Regions from separate parts of the Homo sapiens genome. Here all the other regions are linked to region 2. The links are contacts of gene promoters, found by promoter capture Hi-C in human tissues and cell types (Jung and others, 2019). All regions are on one chromosome and are shown on one strand. The core of a region is centred on a gene start or on the middle of the fragment in contact, and the rest is flanking DNA. Distances in the headings are between cores, read along the strand shown.

What was found. The method cuts DNA at HindIII sites, captures the fragments that hold promoters and counts their contacts. A contact is called where the count stands out against the background at its distance.
Region 1: a contact is called between a fragment that was not itself captured here and the fragment with the promoter of CALML5 in region 2, in 5 of the 25 tissues and cell types used here (H1 embryonic stem cells, adrenal gland, heart right ventricle and 2 more).
Region 3: a contact is called between a fragment that was not itself captured here and the fragment with the promoter of CALML5 in region 2, in 3 of the 25 tissues and cell types used here (adrenal gland, bladder and mesendoderm cells).

What each region holds. Positions count from the first base shown.
Region 1 is chr10:5,563,329-5,566,519 of GRCh38, reverse strand. LOC105376381 (a long non-coding RNA gene) reads left to right here. Exons shown (of 2, transcript XR_001747274.2): 2 at 1,215-3,191. Among named protein-coding and RNA genes, the nearest start is that of LASTR, 31 kb to the left of the region's middle. RefSeq lists a silencer at 2,350-2,576. The HindIII fragment of the contact is 4,548 bases long and covers 1-3,191 here.
Region 2 is chr10:5,498,111-5,501,199 of GRCh38, reverse strand. It overlaps CALML5 (calmodulin like 5), which reads left to right and starts at 1,630. Exons shown (of 1, transcript NM_017422.5): 1 at 1,630-2,503. The coding sequence starts at 1,762. The coding sequence ends at 2,202. The HindIII fragment of the contact is 7,245 bases long and covers 1-3,089 here.
Region 3 is chr10:5,427,863-5,430,803 of GRCh38, reverse strand. It overlaps NET1 (neuroepithelial cell transforming 1), which reads right to left. Exons shown (of 12, transcript NM_001047160.3): 3 at 1,575-1,634. Among named protein-coding and RNA genes, the nearest start is that of NET1, 17 kb to the right of the region's middle. The HindIII fragment of the contact is 8,393 bases long and covers 1-2,941 here.

The DNA of each region.
Region 1 (3,191 bases), core at 37-2,536, 66 kb before region 2:
TGGATGAGAAGGTGGGGGGCACGCCTGGGTTAGGGTCCTTGACAGTTTTGTCCAGATTGGGTTTGAGTGTGGGGTGTCCTCATGGGACTCTGGTGAGTTGGGGGTGGGAAAGGCGGTTGACTCCTTGGGGGCTGGTCACCACTCAACAGCTGTTCTCCAGTGGCACTTTATGAAGCAATGTTAGCAATGGGAGCTCCCCTGCCAAGATGTGGGTGGTCGGTACCCAGTGGCTTTCAAAGCCAGCAACCCAGGGATCTCACAGAAGTCCATCAGCCTGAAGGCAGGCACGTGGGAGATGACTAAAACCAGGTGATGTAGGCAAGAGGTACCCTCAGAACGCCCTCGAGTTGCCCCATTGTTCTTTTCTGTGCTGCCTGTGTGTGCAGCCGCTGAGCTCCTTGTGTTTTCGGGAGGTGGAGTATGCACCCCTGTGGGCTCATCCATCCTCGCCCTCATCATCCTCCCTGGCACCGTGCAGACTCTGAGCTTCTGCCCGCCCCACCCAGGTGTCTCATCCCACCTGCCTCGGGGAGCCTGGCTGAACAGCAGGCACCACCCTGAGCCACCCCTTCCCAGCCAGAGCAGCTCCGGTCGGAGGCTTCCTCCCAACAGGCGGGCTTCTTAAGCCTCCTTAATCTGCACGGAGGAAATTCAGAAATCCAGTCATCCTGAAACCATCTTCCTTCGGGGCAGGACAGAACCCGTGTGTGTGGGTAGATGAGTGTGGATGGTGGGGGTGGGAGGCACATTTGTCATCGTGCTCAGCCCAGAACTTCCCAGATGTTCAGGCCAATCAGGGTGAACCCTTGAACTTCCCTGGGCCTCTGATGCCCGGCTAGTGCCTCAAAAAGCCTCATCCGCGGGTGCTTAAAAAAAAAGACTTGAGGCTTCTTTACAGACACAGCTCATTCTAGAAATCTTCCAGCCCCAACATCACCAAAGGCGAAGAGAAGAAGGAAACTCACTATTCTAGCAGTCCCTGGGCCAAGAGCCTGTTAAGCCATTTTACGAGCCGTCCCCTAAAACATGACAATTCTGCCAGGCAGGTGTGGCAGAAGCGGGGCTATGTCTTTCCCAGAACACTGCAGCTTCAGCATGTCCTGCTTGCAGCCGGGGCCCCTGGGAGTGATGCTGGAGGACACCACCTCCAGGCTGCCCCAGAAACCTCCTGCCCAATACTCACACCGTCTCTCTTCATCTGTTGACCACTTTAGGGCAGGAGATCCAGCGGGGGACTATGGAGCTCAGTGGAGCTGCGGCCTGGGAGAAGCCCACCCAAGAGAACCATGTAACTAGAAACCATCACATTCGGCTTCGTGTGAGGGAGAAGCAGGTGTTTCATTGCACGCAGTTACTGAGATCTGGGGTTGTTTGTTATTGCAGCAAGGACCCACCCTAACACACGAGGTGTTATATGCATTTTACAGATTGCCAAGATGGTACAGACAGCAGAAGTGGCAAAACAACACTTAAACTCAAACCTGCCCAACTTCAAAGTCCACGCCCTTCCCTGGGCTTCAGACTGCCGTCTTTGATGCTATCTTTCATTGAGATGTTGTTTGCATTAAATGGGGGATCTTGCGGCACACGGTGGACCTTGCCCAGCACCCACTCTTCCTAGGGCCAGCCTTACTCTGTGGGGTCAGCCTTTGACCGTCTGGGCCATGAAGGTGGCTGATGAGGCCCCTTCGACAGCCAAGTTGGGGCACAATCTCCTCCGGATGTTGTTATTCCTTCACAGTCTCATCGCAGGCGGGGAGGAAGTCAGAGGGCTGATTTAGAGGACAGAGATACAAACAGAGTGAGCAGAGGATGTTTGGCTGCAGTTGCTCCAGAGTTTCAAGGGAGAAAACACAAGCATTGCTGAGCGGCCATTAGGGGCTTGCACGCTCAGCTGGGCACATGTCCACACCGAGGCATCACGTGCGGTCTGAGCTGAGCTCTCATCTCTGGGTTTCAGGACTTTCAGCACAGTCCTGGCCCTTCACGTTTAGTCTGGGTGATCAGGGATGTAAACCAGCAATTGCAAGGTGGTGAAGCACCACCGTGGAAGGGCACCAGCCGGGCCCTGGGGTCACAGAAGTGCCCCAGGAAGTGTGGCCGTTAAGCCTGGTGAGAGGAGAGCGAGCCGGGAGGACGGTGAGAGACAGGCATGACGGGGCGGTGAGTGTGACTGCTGCTGAGCATGTCTGAGACGGCAGGCAGTCACCAAAGGCTTGTAAGCAGAGGCAACACCCTGACTTGTGGTTTGGAGAGATCATGGTGACTGCCGTGCAGGGACGGAATGGAGGCTGCTCCAGTGACTCTGGCCGTGGGCAGTGGTGGGCGGGTGAGGGGACAGAGGAAAGTGGATGGAGTTGCTGCCCCCACAACCCTGCTGAGAAAGTGCCCACGGGACCTGGCGGGGTGTGAGTCACACTTGGGCTGCTCTGCCTGGCTCTGCACCTATTTCGTGAGCTGGAAGGGACAGCCTGAGCCCCGTCCCTTGGATGGACATCAATGCAGGAGTAAGGGTCTGTCTCTGAAGCTCTCTGAGCAACGGAAGGGAAGGTGCCCACTGGGCTCAATGCAGAGATATTGGGGCTGATGTGGCAGGAGGGGTGGGTGTGCAGGCCCGGCGGGGAAGGAGACTTCCAAACAGACGGGCTGCCCCACGGGGAATCTGGCTGGGGCCAGTCATTCTCAGAGTCAAACCATCTTCATTCAACTCCGAGGCTGCCCCAGGCCAGTAGCGTCCTTCCTGAGAGCGCTTCCTGCGAGATTTATGAGGCAGGGGCCAGGCCTGGATCGTAGAAAGCTAGAGAATGCCTTGGCTGCCCAGGGAAGTCTGGAATTTCTTCCAAACCAAGCTTCCAGACGTCCCTCTGGACTCCTCTGTCTGAGAATGGGCACTTTAAAGGCCCAGGAGAGAACTCCCATGACACCGTTTTCCAACCTCCCATCTCCCCTCCCCGGCAGCTCCCCATTTCCGGCATCTCGGCTTGGCAGGACCCCTCCAGGACCTCACTCCTCTGAGACGCACTGCAGACCTCACAGGTGACAGCAGCGTTTTGCTGACTCAGAGGCAACTACCACGATGACCCTCCAGCCCGTGTCCAGACCTGGGGCAGCGACTTGGACAGGGGGCTGCAGAAGTGGGTCTGTGAGGGGGACCTGACGGGGGGCTGCAGAAGTGGGTCTGTGAGGCGGAC
Region 2 (3,089 bases), core at 381-2,880:
CCTTTTGTACCTGGTCCACGGAGCTCCCTCTCTGCAGACCTCAGCCTCTCCCTCTGCTGTGGTGCTTCCGAGCCCTTTGCACCTCCCTCTGGCCCCTCACATGCAGCTCAGGGAGCAGCTGCCACACTAGGGCTGGCTGGGGCATCTTCCCTCCTCTCACTGCTCTGCCTGGTTTGCCCCTTGTGTGGTCCTGGGGGACTGAGCTGTGGGTCATGGAGTGCGTGGTTGGGCACCCCAGCCTCCGGCTTCCCTTGGAGAATGTGTGCAGCACCAAGGGGCTGGGAGGTGTTTGTCTGGCTGCACTTTAGGGAAGGAGAGGGCACTTGGTCTATTTGATGGGCTGAACAGGAGGGAGGTGGAATGTATAAACTTTCCCAGGGGAATAAAGGAGTTTGTTCCCTGTGTACGGGCAGGGGCTGGGGAGAAGAATGGGAATCTATGGAGATCAGAGGGGACTTGCTTGGGAAAGGCATTTTGGGGACTCCAAGGCAAATGTCCCCTCACAACTGTAGATCACATCAGTGGAAGGACTTGGGGATGGTCCCCCGAAAGCTTAGCTGTTGCTCTAAAAGTTGGTCAAGGCAAGTGGCCCTGGGGGTTTCCTTCCAGAGAACAGATCAGATTGAGGACCCCAGTAGGCTCCCAGATGGGTCTCTGTGCTTAGGGCTGATGCTTAGTAAAACCACAAGGAGGGCCAAGTTTGATGGCAGCCACCTGTTCTGCATCCTCCTGCACCTCTGCCTGCACCTTTGGGGTATGCTGGGCACTGAGGTCCCCCGTGTCTCGCTGCAGCAAAACTCCAGCTGTAACTGTTTGACGCCCTGTGAATGGAACGCCTGCCACTGAGCTCCCAGGGTGTCTGCACAGGGAACCTTGGACTTGGCGATGGAATTGAATTGTAGGAATCCCTGAGCTAGAAGGGAGTATTCTGGGGAGACAAAAAGTCTTTCCCTCTCCTCTGAAACTGCACGTCACATGTTCACTTGATAAACACCATCTCAGCACCAGCTATGGCTCTGAAGGCAGCCCTGGTCCCTTGCTTCCTTGAAGTTATAGGCAGTGAGCCCCATCCTCTGTCTCTAGACCCTGGCCTGGGAATCTCATGATACCCACAGTTGTGCCCTGGCAGAATCAACACTACCACCCACTTCCCTTCCACCAGCCCCAGCCTCAGGGCAAGAGCTAGGCAGTAGCACTGGAGAGAGGGGTACGGAAACACCAAACACTGGGGCCTGCTGTGCCCTTGAGGGAGCCCTCTTCAAGCCACCTCCCCCTCCAGTCTCAGTCTTTGTGAAGTTGCAGAAGCTGTCTTGAACCCCTTGGCTTGGTCAGGATCTCCGAGAATCAGCTGCAGGGGAAACTATCCCTTGGGCAGAATGTTCCTGGAGGGAGGTGGTTGCTATCAAGGCCAGGCGGGGTTGGCAGGCTAGCCATCCGATACCCCGACCCCATGGCAGTTCCCACCTGGCACCTGACAGCTCTCCCAACTCCCATTCCTGCATTTCCTGTCTGCAGCTGATCTGGCCCTCCCTGGGAGGAGGCTCTCACCCCAGGGCATTTGGAGGGTGGGGAGCCTCCCTCCTCCCTTTGTTCCGATTGCAGAAAAGGAGGGGGTTCCCATGCCAAGGCAGAACTGTCTGGGACAGACGCTGCCCGGATCCCTGCGGCTGCCTGCACTCTGGACCACGAGCTCTGAGAGCAGCAGGTTGAGGGCCGGTGGGCAGCAGCTCGGAGGCTCCGCGAGGTGCAGGAGACGCAGGCATGGCCGGTGAGCTGACTCCTGAGGAGGAGGCCCAGTACAAAAAGGCTTTCTCCGCGGTTGACACGGATGGAAACGGCACCATCAATGCCCAGGAGCTGGGCGCGGCGCTGAAGGCCACGGGCAAGAACCTCTCGGAGGCCCAGCTAAGGAAACTCATCTCCGAGGTTGACAGCGACGGCGACGGCGAAATCAGCTTCCAGGAGTTCCTGACGGCGGCGAAGAAGGCCAGGGCCGGCCTGGAGGACCTGCAGGTCGCCTTCCGCGCCTTCGACCAGGATGGCGACGGCCACATCACCGTGGACGAGCTCAGGCGGGCCATGGCGGGGCTGGGGCAGCCGCTGCCGCAGGAGGAGCTGGACGCCATGATCCGCGAGGCCGACGTGGACCAGGACGGGCGGGTGAACTACGAGGAGTTCGCGAGGATGCTCGCCCAGGAGTGAGGCTCCCCGCCTGTGTCCCCCTGGCTGCGCTCTGAGCCTTCAGGGCCACCGCCCGCTGCTGCTTTTGTGCTGGGACTCTCCGGGGAAACCTGGTCGGTGGATGGGAAACTGCCTCCCCCTGGGAGGAAGGCTTTGCGCTCCGGGGCCTGGATGCGGCGCCCTCGGGCCGCCTGCGAGCCCCTCTCTGCCTCCAGACCTTGGGCAGAAGGAGGCCTCCTTGGGCCTGGTCCCCCTTTGCCCTGCAGTGGAATGAGGGCCCCTCAGCCCCGCATTGATCTAAATAAAGGACTGCCGAGTTCCATGTGTGCTTGGTGTTTGTGGGGCGGCTGCCTCCGAGGGCCCCCACCTGCTTCCAGGGTTCCTTCCAGCCCACCCCTCTCACCTGCGGTGGCAGAACTGCCTGGAGCAGGCCCCAGGGGCAGCTCCTGCCTCCCCTGACGCGGAGCAGAGGGCAGGTGGGCAGAGGATGTGTGAGGATGGTGCTGGGCGGTGTCTGTGGCTCCAGGTTCTGCCTGAGCTGCTGGTGAGGACCTGGGCACGTGTCCCGCACAAACAGGAGCGGGCGCCTCGCATGGACAGACGGAGCCCAGCTGCCAGCCTCTGCACGCAGCCTGCCTCTCTTCGGCTGCAAATAATATACGTGTACGTCTGTGTGTGCATCTGTGTGTGTGTCTGTGTGTCTGTATGCGTGTCTCTGTATGTGTGCATCTGTGTGTAAGTCTCTGTATGTTTGTGTGTCTGTGTGTCCTTGTGTGCATCTGCATGTGTATGTGTGTATCTGTGTGTGTGTCTGAGTGTGTCTCTGTGTCTATGTGTCTGTGTGTGTCCATTTGTGTGTGTGTCTTATCTGTGTGTCTGTGTCTGTGTGTGGCTTTGTGTGTGTATCT
Region 3 (2,941 bases), core at 87-2,586, 70 kb after region 2:
AAACCTAAACAAACAAAAAACCCCACAAAAACACACAAACAAGATCAAGAAAATGCATGAATTCTGAACTGAATCTGATATTAAGGAATTATTTGTACTGTTTTGTAGAAAGTGTATTTTATTATGTTTTTAAAAAGTTCTTATCTAAGGTCCGGCATGGTGACTCACACCTGTAATCCCAGCACTTTGTGGGGCCGAGTCTGGAATTCAAGACCAGCCTGGACAACATGGCAAAACCCTGTCTCTACTAAAAATACAAAAATTAGCCGGGCATGGTGGCACACACCTGTAATCTCAGCTACTCAGGAGGCTGAGGCAAGAGAATCTCTTGAACCCAGGAGGCGGAGGTTGCAGGGGGCCGAGATCGCACCACTGCACTCCAGCCTGGGAGACAGAGCGAGACTCCGCCTCAAAAAAAAAAAAAAAAGTTTTTATCTAAGACAATAAAGATAGTAAATGGAATATTTACAGATGAAAGGACATGACATCTAGGATTTACTTCAAAATAATTCATATATTGATAACTGCTAAAGCTTAGTTGAAGACCACGTATTTTACTGTGGCAAACTACAAATACTATTTCTGTATTTGATTTGATTTGAAACATACCTAAAAATAATCAAGGTTGTCATTTCATACTTTTTTCTTTTTTTGAATACAAGATATTTTAAATGCAACTAAAACTGTTTTGCAAAATGCTTACAACTTAAAACACATAATTCTTCTATGAAGACACTGTGTACTAAAAATAAGAAAAAAATTGACTTGCTGGATTTGTTAAAATGTTGATGAGCAGATTATAAAAATTTAATTTTTAGAAAATATCTTGTCTTTAAAAAGAAACAGCAGCTGCTGCTGTTAAACATAATATGAAACATTTTTAAAAATCACATTTAAAAATGTACAACTCTTTTATAACCTTAAAAAAAGACTCTCCAAAACCAAGATGCTACAGTAAAATTTACTAACTGGCAAAAATGATGTTAGTAATTCCAAAGATACTAGGTTTTTGGACTTAAGTACAATTTCATATAAGAAAACTTCAAGTATTTTAAAGTGTGTGCTGAGTGTTAGTTTATTCTATGTCACATACTTGAAGCCTTGAAGCCCATGGGCCACATATGACTTACAGATAAGTTATTTTGCTTGCATGTATTTTTTAAGAAAAACTGACTCAACATTTAAAATTCAGGAGATTTCACATAAAAATCCAGGTTTTGACAGTCCTACATGTGACAGTGGGCTAGAACCTGGGGCTCTCCTTTTCACCACCGGCCCTCTCTTACCTCGTTCCTTCGCACAGATTACAGCCTGTCTCCTTAGCATTTGTGTTTGTGATCAGTAGTTATAGCCTAACATTTTGAGAGTGGTTTCTCCCTCATTCTTAACAAAGAAGTAGAATAGCAAAAAAGACGGTGTCTATGAACTAATATTATTCACTTTTGCACTTACAAAATGCAAAAAACAAAAAAACAAAAAAACCCAAACCAGCATTTGTTATTCTTGCAGCACAGAAATAAAATGCTATCTGCATATTTTTAAATGCTTTTCTTTAACAGGGCAGCAGGGCTTACCTTCAGATCAAGGCTGCTAAGGCTTACAACATCATCATCTTTCTCTCTGCGTTTTCTTTTCTAAAAGAAAAATAGAGATTTCATTCTCATATAAAAGGAATGCATATTACCTCACAAAACAAAGACTCTATAAAACTAGAAAAATCAATTTAAAAAAGTTAAGCCTTTGGCTATAGTCACAAGAAAATTACTTTGAGGCCAGGCGCGGTGGCTCACGTCTGTAATTTCAGCACTTTAGGAGGCTGAGGAGGGCGGATCGTCTGAGGTCAGGAGTTCGAGACCAGCCTGGCCAACGTGGCGAAACCCTGTCTCTACTAAAAATCCAAAAAAAAAAAAAAAATTAGCTGCGCGTGGTGACACACACCTGTAGTCCCAGCTACTCAAGAGGCTGAGGCAGGAGAATCGTTTGAACCTGGGAGGCAGAGGCTGCAGTGAGCCGAGATTGCGCCACTGCACTCCAGCCTGGGTGACAGAGCAAGATTTCCTCTCAAAAAAAAAAAAAAACAAAGAAAATTATCTTGAGGAGAGACGCTCATGAATTGTCTTTGGAATAGATACTATCTGAACAGTCTCCCCTGACTAAGTCATCACTGCTGTGAAGTGGCTACCCTATTAAAATACTACTTAAGTTTTTCAGAACAGAACTCTTATGTAAATCAAGGGCTGTCTGTACTTGTTAGAGAAAAAGTAAAAATTTTTTAAATATAAAATCAGCTAGTTTTTTTTTTTTGAAAAGGAACACATTATTTATCTTGGGGGCAAGGTCTTCACTAGAAAAAAAAAATCCTTTTCTCATGGCCCAAAGTAATTAAGATTTGTTGCCTGAGGCAGGATTGATTAACTAGAAGGTGAACAGCCATGTCCCTGGAGTACTTTCCACTTACCATTTATCACTTTCATTCAGCCCTTCTGGCACCAGTAGTGGCAAAACTGTGTACATATCTACCATTTCTGGTACTTAATTAATAGTGAATAAGCACCCACGGGTAACACTTCATTTTCCCACATCTCAAAATAACTTTTCAGGTTACCTACACAGCTTACTTCTTGGTAACTCTTAAAAAGTGACTAGTTAGGGTTCCCGTCAACTTCCTGGCCCCACAGTGAGGAGAAACTGCTGGGAATTGAATCAAAATTGAACAAGATAGGGCCAATAGAGAAGAAAAAAAAAAAAAAAAAAAAAAAAAAAAAGGAACGGCAAAGTCCAGATAGAAGTGGAGAAAGTAACAGAGCCAGGCAGTCTCAGAAAGCAAGCTACCATAAAAAACAACACGAAGGAGGGTTGTGAAGTCAGAAAAGCTATCTGAACCAAGATTTTGTGTACAAGTTGAAAACTAAATTCACACTAAAATGAACAGAAAATTCTC